Linked DNA regions of Homo sapiens: region 2 is linked to region 1. Evidence: promoter capture Hi-C in 16 types of primary human blood cells and fetal thymus (Javierre and others, 2016). All regions are on one chromosome and are shown on one strand. Each heading gives the region's core, a stretch centred on a gene start or on the middle of the fragment in contact. The rest is flanking DNA. Distances are from core to core; before and after follow the strand shown.

What was found. The method cuts DNA at HindIII sites, captures the fragments that hold promoters and counts their contacts. A CHiCAGO score of 5 or more calls a contact.
Region 2: the fragment with the promoter of ELF2 here is called in contact with a fragment that was not itself captured in region 1 in 1 of 17 cell types (fetal thymus); the score reaches 7.7 in fetal thymus.

What each region holds. Positions count from the first base shown.
Region 1 is chr4:140,524,732-140,531,722 of GRCh38, forward strand. It overlaps ELMOD2 (ELMO domain containing 2), which reads left to right. Exons shown (of 9, transcript NM_153702.4): 2 at 689-839; 3 at 2,735-2,763. The coding sequence starts at 698. Among named protein-coding and RNA genes, the nearest start is that of ELMOD2, 4.1 kb to the left of the region's middle. The HindIII fragment of the contact is 4,334 bases long and covers 660-4,993 here.
Region 2 is chr4:139,174,139-139,181,129 of GRCh38, forward strand. It overlaps ELF2 (E74 like ETS transcription factor 2), which reads right to left and starts at 3,080. Exons shown (of 10, transcript NM_001331036.3): 1 at 2,829-3,080. It overlaps LOC105379412 (a long non-coding RNA gene), which reads left to right and starts at 2,017. Exons shown (of 4, transcript XR_007058273.1): 1 at 2,017-2,210. RefSeq lists an enhancer at 2,051-2,100, silencers at 2,701-3,660, 3,671-4,050 and a cis regulatory region at 4,417-4,541. The HindIII fragment of the contact is 9,266 bases long and covers 1-6,540 here.

The sequences.
Region 1 (6,991 bases), core at 1,577-4,076:
ACTAGTATCTCCCTGACTTTTTCATTTAGAAGCTGAAGAATTTTCTTATGGCATAAGATATAGTTGTATCGAGTGTGTACTTAGCAAAACAAAAACTTGTTAGTATTTCTGCCCTTGACCTATTGAATGGAAAATCAAGAATGAGCTAAGGTGTTATATACTCAGTGTTCAACTTGTATACTTAAGTTTGTAGTGTTTTTATTTGCTGGCATCACCTGACTGGGACAGTTGTAACGAATTATCCACATGGGATAAGAAGAGTGTATTCTATAAAAACAACTCTGATGTTTTGGTATATATTTTAATTGTTGATTAGTTGGAGTCCTCTTGATCTTGAACTGTTGAGCCCCAGTTCTCAAAGAATGGGAAGTTAGGAAACTAAGATATGAAATACAATTATTTAGCAAAAAGTGCAAACCATTCTGTTACTCTTTCAAGCCATTGAATAGTTTGAGTACATTGTTTGAATTTTAGTTTTGAAAAAGTGATTAATTGGCCATTTGATCATCAATTAATAGCGGTATATATTACACCTGCCATTGTTTTTAAATGCCTAATTAAACTGTCAAAACAGACACAATGAAATGATAGATACATAATTTGAGATTTGATCAGTTGTATAAACTTTTTAAATTTTAAAATTCAGTTTAAGGTCATTAAGCTTGTCTTGTATGTTTCCCTCCTCCAGGAAAAAAAAATGTTTATTTCTTTGTGGGAGTTCTTCTATGGGCACTTTTTTCGATTTTGGATGAAATGGCTATTACGACAGATGACTGGGAAGTGTGAATTGCAGCGAATATTTGATACCTATGTAGGTGCACAAAGGACACACAGGATAGGTAATGTTATTCAAAAAGAAAAAGTACTAATAAAAGTTTAACGGAGTGTTTTTCTCAGGACTCACAGTGACAGATGTATTTCTTTTGTATCCTGACAAGTCACTTAAACTGAATTTCATAAGCTCTGAAGTCCCGCTTTGACTCCTTCAGCTCTAAAATTGTATGAATTTATAGAAAAAGTGGTTATTTAATTGCTTATGTGTGGAAAGAATTCTCTGGCTCCTGAAGTTTATCGGTTATTCCTTAGATTATAGTTGCAACCTATTTTCTGGTGAAAAATTTCTATACTTACATAATCCCTTTGAAATTTTCACTCACATGGTGGGAAGAATGAGTGCCTCAGTCTACATCCATTTTTATACTTAGGATCCTTCATCAGTCTTTTACTTTCTTACTGTTACTTATGAAAGGCCTGTAATTATGTATCCAGTGGTCTCTAGGAAAGATTATTAGACTCATTCTCACTGTCCAATACCATAGCCAATAGCCACATTATATTGAGCATTTGAAATGTGGCTAGTCTAAATTGAGATGTGCTGTAAGTGTAAAATATAAACTGTATTTCAAAGACTTATAAGAAAATGTAAAAAGTCCCAGTAATTGTTTATATTCTTTGTATGTTGAAATGGTAATATTTTGGATATGTTGGGTTAAAAATATATTAAAATGTTATCTGTTTCTTTTTACTTTAATGTGGCTATACAGAATTTTAAAGTACACAAATGGGTCACATTTTGGCTTGTGTTATATTTCTGTTGAACAGTGTTGCTCTGTTACCTTCTAAAATACATCAGTTTTCAGTGCTTCATTGAAAATTTTACTCTAAAATTTGAACACAGATGAGTAAGAACTGTGTTTTGAAGTCGCTTCTTTTCAGCCAGGGTAAGGAAGAGCAGAGAAGTGCTCTAGCTCATGCTCTCTGTGTTAAACGGAAAATTGTGAATTAGCCAGATTTTTTTTTTGTGTTGATCAAGTGTGCTTCGACTGAGAAATCAACCCCTGTCAGGTTAAGAGAGTGGAGTATTGGCAAATGGAACCTGTATCCAAGACAACATCGGAAGAATGACAGACAGACGCTGCCTCATAGCAGCTGGTTGATTAAGTTTAATTACTTTCCTAGTTTTCTTACAACTTCATGGTTGACTTAAATTATTGCTGCTCTTTTAATTTGCCCTTTTGACTACTCAAAAGAACAAAGTACCTCTTGATAAGAAATCTCTTCAGGCAGTATGGGTTGGTGTTTTATAGTGTGGGGGAAGAATATATATAAAGGCATTTGTTTGTGGCAAAAGCATTTTTCCTAAATTTTTCAAATTGCTGAGAAAAGATTATTCGTAAATGTGCCAGAAAATTTTTTAAATAGACCAATAAAAATGTTCCTGTGATTCTTGATATAGAAACCAGGAATGGAGAAGCTATTTGTCTGGTGACAGAAGGGTTGACCAGATAATCTGAAGTCCTTGCCTATTTGTTGTACGATTTGGTTGCTATCACCTCAAATCTAAAGGCTCAGGCTAACAAATGAAAATGCAGTAGAGAGCACTCTCATTGTAGTCTTAAGATGAGTTTCTGGGACCTGAGCTACTGTGACACAATTATGGGTGAATTTGCAGTGGTTAGTAGACACTTTGGGGTCTAAACAGAAACATATGACCCCAGGTAATGAGGTTGGTGTCACCTCTTTGAATAGGTATTTTGTGTTTGGTTGAGTTTTTTGAAATCATATGTTTATACTGTAAGATTAAATTTTAAAATGCTTCCTGTTATATAGAAATTATATCTCCTGGAACTATTAGTTTGTTACTGGTTTGATATTTTTACTAGTTGTTTATTATAGGGTAATTGACAAACAGCATTTAAGTGATAACATCTTTTTTTTTTTTTTGTCATTTCAGAAAATTCCTTGACATACTCCAAGAATAAGGTAGGATAACATAAAGGTGGTAACTCTAGAAAACTTAACGTGGACATATTTTTTCTTAAAAAAAAAAAAGTGCCCTGCTAGAAGAGTGTTTTCTATAGTGAGCATTGAGTGAAATTTTCCCCGTTTAGAGGTAATATTCTGTTTTCAAACATTTCTCTATATATGTGTTTTTCGTGTGTATTTCAAAGAAAATACTTGAATAATTTGTCCTGTCCTGAGGTTTTATTTGTTTATTTTGCTTTAAGAGTTGATAGCTTTTAGGAAAGCAGGGCCTTAGGAGGAAAGTCGTCTTTTAGACTGTGTCCTCAGGATAGATTATATGAGAGAAAAGCAACTTAGGATAGAGAAAACCCTGGGTTGTGTACCTTTTGAGCTAAAATAAGTCATAATTCATGCTATGTATTAGTCAGCTTTTGCTGTGTAACAAACTATAATAAAATCTCAGGGGCATAAAACGATACGTTGTTTCTTGCTCATATGTCTATGGGTCAGCTGGAGAAGCCTTACTTCAAGCTGGGGCCAAGTTCCTGTCTATTCCATTTGTCTCATCTGGGACTCAGGTAGGGGGTTAACAGGTATCTGGTGAATGTTTTCACCATGGATAACTAAAGGCCCAACTACACAAATATATTTTAAGTCTCTTTGTGTCATGTCTGTTAGCAACCTGTTAGTTAAAACAAGTTACATGGCCAAGCCCAAGTCAAGGGGTGGAGAAATATGATATGCCCACCGTAAGGCTATGGTAGGGAGTAGGTTGTATAATTCAATTACAAGGTAATGAAGAATTGGGACCAATAATTCAGTCTACCACATGCTGTTACTTCCCTATTGTAGTTCACAATTTTGTCTACATGTAGATTATTTGGTGTGGCAAGGATAGAATACGGGTCATCTAGACCATTGTTTGAAATCCCATAATAGAACACAACCAGTATTAAACAATAATAGGAATAGAACAGAAAATATTTAGAAACCATTGGTCATAATATGGTTAAATATATTTTAGGAATTTTTTATACTATTATAATTATTTTAAATATTTCTGTGTACATCTGTGTGTATTTTGGACATCCACATGAATGTTTGTTATTGATCATGATGTAAAATGTGGCTCAAGGTCAAAAATGTTGATTTGCTACTGTCTAGTATTATGAATCGTGCCAGAAATAAAATAGACCTTCTTGAGAGTTGCAAGCATATCTGTTATGTTCTGAAGAGTAACCTTTAAAATAGGTACTTTAATGATTTAGTTGTACTCTTTAAGAATGGTCTATTTAAGAATAACTCATATATATAAGTGAATATTTGGGGGAAGAGTCCAGAGTTACACTCCTTTGTTCAGAATTGTTAGAGAGTGATTAATATATTTTTTAAAATGAGGATGTGGAGGTCCTGAAAGCTAACAGGTTGCTGGTTCTCAAAATTTATTTATACCTTATTTATTTGTATAGTTCCTTTATTTGAAACATAGGATGCAGTTTCCCAAAGTAACAATATTACAAATTTTAGCAGATGCACTTGGGGAGGTGTTATATTTCAGGTCCATTACAAGAGTAGTCCTTAAACTTAAGGAAGAATCAAAATCTTCTGGAGGCCTATTAAAACACAGATTATTGGGCCCCATCCCCGGAATTTCTGGTCTGGTTCTGATTGCATTTCTAACATGTTCCCAGGTGATACTGCTGCAGCCGTTCCTGCTGGTGAGGGCAGTGTCTTGAGGCACTAATAGCATATTAGTATGCTGTCTGGGGACTGTTGTGGATCATAACTGCTTTAACTTTGTTTCGATAGGAAACTGTGTATGTTTTTCAAACTGACCTTAAACAAGTTGGTTTGGAACTATTTGGGTGCTGAACCCTCTAGAATGAATTGTTCTGTGAAATCTGTTTTCTTTAAGCCTCGACATTGTAAAGAGAGTAAAACCATAGCTGAGCTCTTTATGTTATACCCACAATCCCAGCTTCCAACCAATTTTTTCAGTAGTGTGTTCCTCCAAATAACCTTGACATCTCTCAGCCTGGAAGTTGTCCAACACTGCCATTGCTGTCCACTAAAACTCTTATCTGGTCCCCTTCATTACTCTCTGACTTTATCTACTACTGTTCTTGCCTTGCTCACTGGTCATCACCACTATGCTGCCTGTTATTTTCCAAACACATCAGCATGCTTCTGGTTTATGACCTTTGCACCAGGTCTTCTGTTTAAGTAGAATTATCTTCTCCCGCTTAAAAGCTTAGCTCACTTCCTCATTTTCAGGTTTTTCCTCAGTTATGACATTCTCTATGAGATTTTCCATGACCATTCTCTACCTAAGGGTATACCTTTGTCTCTCTTTATGATCCCCTTTCCTTAATTGTTTCACCATAGCACAGACCATCACTAGCGTACTAAATATTTTACTTACTTATTTTTCCATTCCTGAAAAGAAAAAGGCATTGTTTATTTTTTGTTGTTGTTTTGTTCACTGATGTTTTTCTAGTACCTGAAACAGTGCCTGGAATGTGATAAGGCTCTGAATATTTATTGAGTGAATGAATGAATAAGTGAGAAAAATAAGAGGATAAAGAATAATAAGTAAATGAAAATTAACTTTTTTCAGAATAGAGTGTAGTGTTTCTTTTATTTACTAATTTACTGTAGAGGTTCTGGAACTGGGGACTCAGTATCACATCTATCAGTGTAATTGTTATAACTGCATTTGTAACAACAGTTTTGGTCACAGAATTTATTAATGGGATTGTATGTGTGGTAAAATCATGCCAAGCTTAAGTGGAACAATACATAAGATGCTACATTTAAGAACTCCAGTGCCTTGGTCAAATCCGTCCAAGGATTTGAATGACTACCACATGTTCAGTATTCAACCAGGGTCTTTGGGATATTCAAAAGATATACAAAAGAAGACTGGAATTGAATGTAATTGTAAGTAGAAGTTTAGAGAAGGAAGAGGTAAATGTAGACTAGAGTGTTTGGGGATTTTAAAGTAGTGGTTACAAGTTAAAGAAAAATAAAATGTTCATCATTTTTTACCTCTGTTTCTTGCTATTAAAAAGTTCACTTGAAAAGTAAACATTAAAATTGTATTCTTATGAACTTCATTATTCAAAAATAGAAATTGCTATAGTACTTTGGAGGGCATCCTGCAAAGAGAGTGGTCAACAAATGGGTAAATACTGAAATTAAATCACTTAACGATTTATTCTTTTAAGGTTTTAAATCTAAGACAAACTTTCCAATAAACAGAGGTAGCCTTATCAATTTAAAAATATAATTTATGTGTGTATTGCACCTAATTTGTATATTCCATTTACTTTGTAGGGTAAATCTATTTCTCATTTTGTGATATTTTGGTTTACCTAATTACATTTTTATTCGATAAAAAAGTCTGGGTTCAAATCCTGATATTATCAATTACCAGTTGTTTGACTGTGTACAAGTTACTTATTTTCTCATTCTAAAAGCTATTCATACCCACATAGTTGTTTTGAAATTAGAGATATTACTATGAAAACAGTCTAAGAGAATGCCCAATACTTAGTAAGTATTCAACAAATAGTGGTTACTAATAATATTAATGATAATATAATTAAGCCAATATATACCATAATCATTTTAGAAATTTGATATTCATGAAAACCTCTTTGGTACTTGAGAGTACTTAGCATTACCAATGATTGCTGTGAATAAAAGTGATTTTAATCTATTCAGAGTGATTCCCTAAAGCAGTGATCTTGAAGTATGATCATGTTGGACTGTGCACTGTTCCACAGTGTGCATTCTTTCTTTGTTAAAAATTGAATCTTATTTGCTTATATTTTAGATTAAGGACTATTTATCAATTAGATATTAAGGGTTAACAAACTGGGATTTATAAATAAAAATTAATGACTTATTCGAATTTGAGGAGTCTAATTCAATATTCTGCTAAGAAGTCTGGCTTCCATGCAATATATGACAATGGAGCAAAGCTCCACTGTACTTACGCATATACAGGCATTTGAATTTCTGAAAGTTAGGGAGGAATACTTTGGCAATCTATTGGTGTTTTTGGTGGCTGTCTTTTTATTGCAGCTGCCGTCTTAGGGTTTAAATAATAATGTAGCTGTTAAATAGTTGAATAATAAATACATTTTACGGCATTAGTTTAGTTTTCTTTTAATGCTATAGTGATGCACATTTGCATTTTTGGGCCTCTACTTTTCCACTACAGCCTATAGTCATTCAAAGT
Region 2 (6,991 bases), core at 1,830-4,329, 1.4 Mb before region 1:
CAGAGGTTGCAGTGAGCCAGATCACACCACTGCACTCCAGCCTAGGCGACAGAGCGAGACTCCATCTTAAAAAAAAAAAAAAAAGAAAGAAAGAAAATAGATTTTAAAAAAAAAAGAAATGAAGTACTGACACATATTACAACATGGATATACTTTGAAAGCATTATGCTAAACGAAAGAAGCCAGTCACAAAAGACCGCATTTATGGTTTCATTTACATAAAATGTCCACAACAGTCTAATCTATAATGATAGAAAGTCGATCAGTGGTTGCATAGGACTGGGAGTGCTGAGGGAAAATGAAAAGCGACTGTTAATGGATATGGGGCTCTTTTGGGGGATGATTAAAATGCTGTAAAATTGAGTATAGTGATGGCTGCACAACTCTGAATATACAGTCGGCCCTCCATATCCATGAGTTCTGAATACATGGATTCAATCAATGAGGTACAGAAACTACTCAAAAAAAAATTATGTCTGTAAATGAACATGTACAGACTTTTTTCTGGTCATTATTCCCTAAACAATACACAGTATAACAACTATTTACATAGCATCCACATTGTATTAGGTAGTATGAGTGATGTGGAGATGATTTAAAGCATACAAGAGAATATGCAGAGTTTATATGCAAATACTATGTCAGTTTTATTCATTTTTCCTAGGAGACAGGATTTTGCTCTGTCACCCAGGTTGGTGTCCAAACTCTGGCCTCAAGAGATCCTCCCACCTCAGCCTCCTGAATAACTGGGATTACAGGCACAAGCCACTGCACCCAGCAACTATGCCATTTTATTTTAGGGACCTGAGCATCCATAGATTCTGGTGTCTGAGGAAGGCCCTAGAACAAATCCCCAACAGATACCGATGGACAATTGTAGTAAAAACCACTGAATTGTTCACCTGCAAAATGGAGTAATTTTTTAAAAAATTAATAAACCCACCAAACTGTACACTTTAAACTGAACTGACTAGTATGTGAATTATATCATCGTGAAGCTGTTACTCCTCCAAAAATGGTATACAACATGAGCAGGTAAAGCCACTAACATTAGCAGACCCTACAGGCCACAGGTACCAATCTGTTTACTTAGGACAGAAAAATCCCAAAGTTACAAATTCTTTCCAACCATACTCAAGCTGACTATTTTGTAAATGAGTATTTATGTCTGAAATGAAAGGCAATGATAAATCCAATGAGTTAAATCACTAAACTTAAAAATAGGTTGACATAAATATTCAAACTTCAAATGCCCAGGATATTCCAATTTTCTATTTCATGTGTTTAACTACTAGATATCGTCTCAATAATATTTACATGAATGTACTCTGTAAACTGTAATGCTCTATAAAAAGTTTTATTATTCCTAAATTCCCTTAAATGTAATTTAATGGTTTCCAGTCCTATATAAGTCATTCTACCTTTTGAAGAAACTCTGAAACACAAATATCCAATCCTTTCTTAGTAAAGCATACATCCTTCCGTGATTCTGGCACCAAAGAAAGTGCATAATTTACTTCAGGATAGAGAATCACAGATAAAAAGGAAAACAAATCTGATTATCAAACACACGATTACTATTCTCTCATCACCGGATTACAATTTAAACCATTAAGCTGAAGTAAATGTTCATGAACACAAGAAAGGGGGGAATTTTTAACAGTTTTACAATGACGTGTCCCCCTCTTCCTCATTTAATGAAGTACTAAACTTAAAGGCTATTCTGCAGCGAATCTGCCTCCTAGAAAGAGTCCATCCAGGATGCTGGCAGAGGGAAAAAGATTAGAAACTGTGCGATCTGGATTATTCTTGGTGTCACGGAATATTTTTTGAGTCCTTTATGGACATGGAATAAAAATGCCCAAATGGAGCAGAAGAGAGGGCTCGGCTACCCTGATCACAAAGCTCCTGGGGTAGAGTCAGCATCCAGCCCTGGCAGAGCCCTCCCTGTCCTCCTTCCGCGCCCCTAGACCATCCCGTCGCGCGGTCCCTGAGGACCAGCTTCGCGAGGATCCAGAAGGCGGTCACTGGACGTGCCTGTTACGAGCCCGTTTTTGTTTTGCTTAAGAAACAGATTCCGATCCGAGCAAAGCCTCCCTACCTCCCGGGGAATAGGGGGAGATGGCAGCACGGTGCCGGCGTGGAGAGCGAGAATAAAAGAACTGCCGAGTACAACCTGTCGTGCAAGCTAGCAGCGCCGGGAAGGAAAGGTAAGCGGCGGCGATAAGGCACGACAGGGAAGGAAACTGGTGTCCAGCGCCCCCCCCCGCCTGCCCGCCACCCAGAGCGGCCGGAGCCTCCCAGGTCCCGCCCCGAGCTCGCCGCCCAGCCCCGGCGCCGGCCGCAGACTCCCGCCCTACACAAACCCTCCCAGGACGCGCTTCCTCCGGAGCCGGACCCCCGCCCTGGCCTCCCCGCGGGATGAGGCGGGTCAGTTCAGTCCGCTTCTCGGCAGAGGTGACTCGCGCAGAGATGTAAACACGGAGAGACCAGCTGCGCTCGGCCCATCCCCCCCGCCGGGGTCTGTAACCTCTTCCCTCAGCCCTGCCCCGCGCCCCGCGCTCCCCGCGGGCAGGCGCGCAGCGCGCCTTCCCCTTTCTCCAAGTCCCGCTCCGCGACCGTTGCCTGGGGACACTCAGCCCCCTTCCCCCAGCCCCCGGCCGGTGTCACCGCCGCAGCCGCCGGAAAACCCCTCCGCAAACCCCGAAGCAAACAACACAAGCGCGGGGCGGGGGCGCGGAGGGAGGCGGCGGCAGTCGGGACAGCCAGGCTTTATCGCCGCGCCCTTCGCGCTCCCTCTCACCAGCCTCGGCTGCCCGCGCTCTTACCTGCTCTCCGCGACGCCTGGGAAGACCGCGGCGTCCTTTTCCCTCTCAGCAGGGCCGCGGACTAGCCGCCGCCGTTGGCCGAGCGTCCGGAGGGAGCCGGGGCCTCCCCAGCAGCCCGAGCCGCTCCACAGGGAGAGAAGGAGACAAAACAGAGGCTCGCCGCCCCGCGCAGCGACCCCCGCCCGCGCCGCCCCACCGACCCCCAACCGCCTAGGCGACGGCGGCGACACAGAGCTTGGCGCTGGGAGCAATGGTTGCCCCCGCCCCGCTCCGCTCCCGGCCCCCTCCCTCCACCCCCCGCCTCGGCTCCTCCCCCTCGGCCTCCTGCCGCCTCCACCAGGACACTGGAGTCCGCCTCCCCCTCCCCGCCAGCTCAGAGTGCTCCTCCCCTCCCCACGCGGCGGGGGGGCGGGGGCGGCACCGCCAGTCACCGCAGCGCCTGTCAAACGCGGGCCGGCTATTTATACCCCGCGGGGCCCCGCCGCCCTCGGGCCCCCACCAGCCCGCCGAACCTGCTTCTTTTGCTGTCTTGAATCCCGCCCTCTTCTCCTCGCCCAACTTCTCCCAAACCCGCCTTCCCAGGTAAAGACGCTCGTCACTTGTCCGGCTCCTTGCCCAGGGCTCCCCGATCTCGCTCTCCACTCCAGCCCCGGATTGGTGCAGGGGGCTCTGCCGCACGGGGCAGGCGTGTGAGGCCGATGGGGCCGCGCGTGCACCTGCAGCGCCCGCCGGCTTTCCCCCGCCGGCCGGGACCGCACGCACACACCCTCGCCACTCAGGGCCCCCGCAGGCCCCGCCGTCACCGCATCCCCAACTCAGGACTCTCGCCCTTCTCCGGAGACGGCCCCACAGTCGGGCAGTCTGACAGTTACAGGGGGGCGAGGTTTTGCAAAAACTCCTAGCCCGGTCTTTCCAGTTCCCACTCCTCAGCCTTGGCTTAGTGAAAGGTGGGGGTTCGGGCAGGAGCGCGACGCCGGCCCCGCCCCGGCCGGTGACGCACGTGGCGCACCGCCCCGCCAGCCTCGCGCCCCTCGGCGCCGCCAGCTCCTCCTCCCCGCTAGCAAAAGCCGGGCGTAGTACACCCGCGACCCCGCCCCATTCCCAGAAATTACCACCCGCCCAACAGCCCGGCCGCGCGGCGGTTGGTGCCGGCGTTTGCTGGCTGTCGGGTGGCTGGGCCCAGCGCGCAGCTGCGGAGCGCGGCGGGCGGCCCCTTGGAGCTGCCCGGGGAGCTGCGGGCACTCGCACCTAGCCATTGTCGCTCCTTGCGCGGTCCGCAACGGAGAAGTAACTCAAGTCTGAGTGTTGTTGGTGCGAGAATGAGAGAGTGTTCTGGTGTGGGAGTATTTTGGCCCAAGTGCCTGCGAATTCGAAAACGAAAACCCAGCAGTGGCTGCACGCTTCTGGTTTCCACACTTTCACACAAAGGGGAGCCTTCGAGCGGGGCACTCTCACGCGCCTTCAAGTGCACAAAAGCCAATGACACGGTGCCGTGGGTTGCCCTGTGTAGGAGCGTCTCTTTAATGGGCTTTGTAGGCACAGTTAATGCATACAAACGCCTCAGTCTATTTCTTCACCACCACCATTCCCCGCCGCGGCGTTTTCTGTATTTGTTTCTTTAACAAAGAGCACAGCCTGTCCGGTGCGCGCGGGGCTCCTTTTGCTCCCCTCCAGGGCTCCTGCAGCCTCGCCGCGATGGACCTGGCACCTGGCGCGGTATTCACCAGCTGATTTCTGGGCTCCAGCGTTACCCTTTTTACGGCTTCACAACCAGTCTGGAGCAAAGAAGAAACACTGAGGAATATAAGTGATAGCTGTTCTCTTGAAAGGGACGTGGGAACCGTGGAAATCACCCTAGAGTAAGGCTCAAATGTCAGAAAGCTGCAGGAGGCTCCAGATTTAAATCCCTGAAGAGCCTAAGAATGTAATGATCTCTTTCTTTTGTTAATACTGCTGTTGCCTCTATTTTCTTGGGGGTGAGTCTTCTCTTCCTTTCTTAAAAAGCAACTCTGGGCCGGGCGCAGTGGCTCACGCCTGTAATCCCAGCACTTTGGGAGGCCCTGGAGGGTGGATTGCCTGAGGTCAGGAGTTCGAGACCAGCCTGCCTAACATGGTGAAACCCCGTCTCCACTAAAAATACAAAAATTAGCTGGGCGTGGTGGCACACGCCTGTAGTCCCAGCTCCTCGGGAGGCAGGAGAATCGCTTGAACCCCGGAGGTAGAGGTTGCAGTGAGCCGAGATCGCAACACTACACTCCAGCCTGGGCGACAGAGCAAGACTCCTTCTCAAAAAAAAAAAAAAAAAAAAAAAAAGGCCGGGCGCGGTGGCTCACTCCTGTAATCCCAGCACTCTAGAAGGCCGAGGCGGGCGGATCACCTGAGGTCAGAAGTTCAAGACCATCCTGGCTAACACGGTGAAACCCCGTCTCTACTAAAAATACAAAAAATTAGCCGGGTGTGGTGGTGTGTGCCTGTAATTCCAGCTACTCGGGAGGCTGAGGCAGGAGAATCGCTTGAACCCGAGAGGCGGAGGTTGCAGTGAGCCCAGATCGCACCATTGCACTCTAGCCTGGGCAACGAGAGCGAAACTCCGTCTCAAAAAAAAGCAAGTCCGAGGGCTCTTATTCTTATTTAAGAAATTTTTACTCTTGAACACAGAGGAAACCTGGAGACCGTGACTGTTAATCAAAGATCCTCTTAACTCTTGACAAAGTTTTCTGGATTCCTGAGTTCTAAATCATGGGACTGTTGACACCCTTTTGAACTAAAGAATTTGTAACAATTTGGTAACATTCAAATCTTTAATACACAATAAACAGGATTCTGCAAACAGAGCACCCTTTCTAAGGGAGTCTTTTTATCTCACTTCTTGTAAATAACTTATCACTTATGGGAACCATTGCCCAATTTGATATTTGTAAGGAATTAATTAATAATCAATAATATTGCATCTTCATAACATAACATAGCATACTAAGGAGCCGGCAAAGACAAAGACTGATTCCTGTTGTTAGGGACAGATATCACCTGCCAAGTCACATAATTTCTGTTGTCAGCCACGTTGAGAAGAAATTCTCTCCCACTGCCGATTGGCAGTAAGCTGGAAAGTCCCAGGTGGATAACAGTGGTAGATAACATTATTGTTCCCAATTTTTCACTACTCCATGCATGCATGCCATTTGAAATACGGCTTTGTAGTTCCTCTCAGTAGAGATAGGATGTTTCTCCATCCTGTTCATGTTGAGCTTAGATCAGTCCATTTGCTTTTGGTCAAAGGAAGATAGGCAGAAGTGAGTGTGACAGTTCTGAGCCTGGCCTCAAGAGGTATTTCATGTTTCTCCTTCCCTCTCTGGCACTCTTGTTTTTCACAATGTGAAGAACATACCTGGCTAGTTTGCTGGTCAAAGAAATATGAAGCAGGTCTGAAGCCAGTCCCAGCTTGGGGTCAGCAACCTAGAGAATAAAGGATTGTTGTTTCAAGCCGTGTTTTGGAGTAATAGCGTTTTGGAGTAATAGTGTTTTGGAGTAGTTGGTTCCTGGAATTAGTGTTGTGATAGCTGACTGAAACAACAGCAGAAAGAGCAATCTGCTTCCTTCATATTGGCCTGCAAGGTGCCTAACTTGGTGTGTCTCAGGCAGCTCTTTGGCTATGGTTCTTAAACACATCCCTTATGGAGGCCAGCGGAGTAAGGAACCCAGAAATTTTACAGCAAGCTTGTCCAACCCAGGGCCTGCAGGCTGCATGCGGCCCTGGACCGCTTTGAATGCAGCCCAACACAAATTTGTAAACTTTCTTAAAATACTTTTTTGCGATTTTTTTTTTAAGCTCATCAGCTATCATTAGTGTTAGTGTATTTAATGTGTGGCCCAAGATAATAATTCTTCCAGTGTGGCCCTGGAAAGCCAAAAGATTGGACACCCCTGGTTTACAGTAAAGCATTCTAGAGAACAGGGGTCAGAAGGAAAAGTCTAGTGTGACCAGTAGTCCTAGTAGCAAGCTAATGATCATGGAATAGGAAATCTCTGTTGTAACTGGATTGCTTTTGCTGTTTTTTATGTTATATAGTTTTTTATGTTATATAGTTTATTTTTTAATTATTTTTATATTTTATTTAATTATTTTTATTATAGTTTATTTTTTAATTATACAATGATTCATTAAT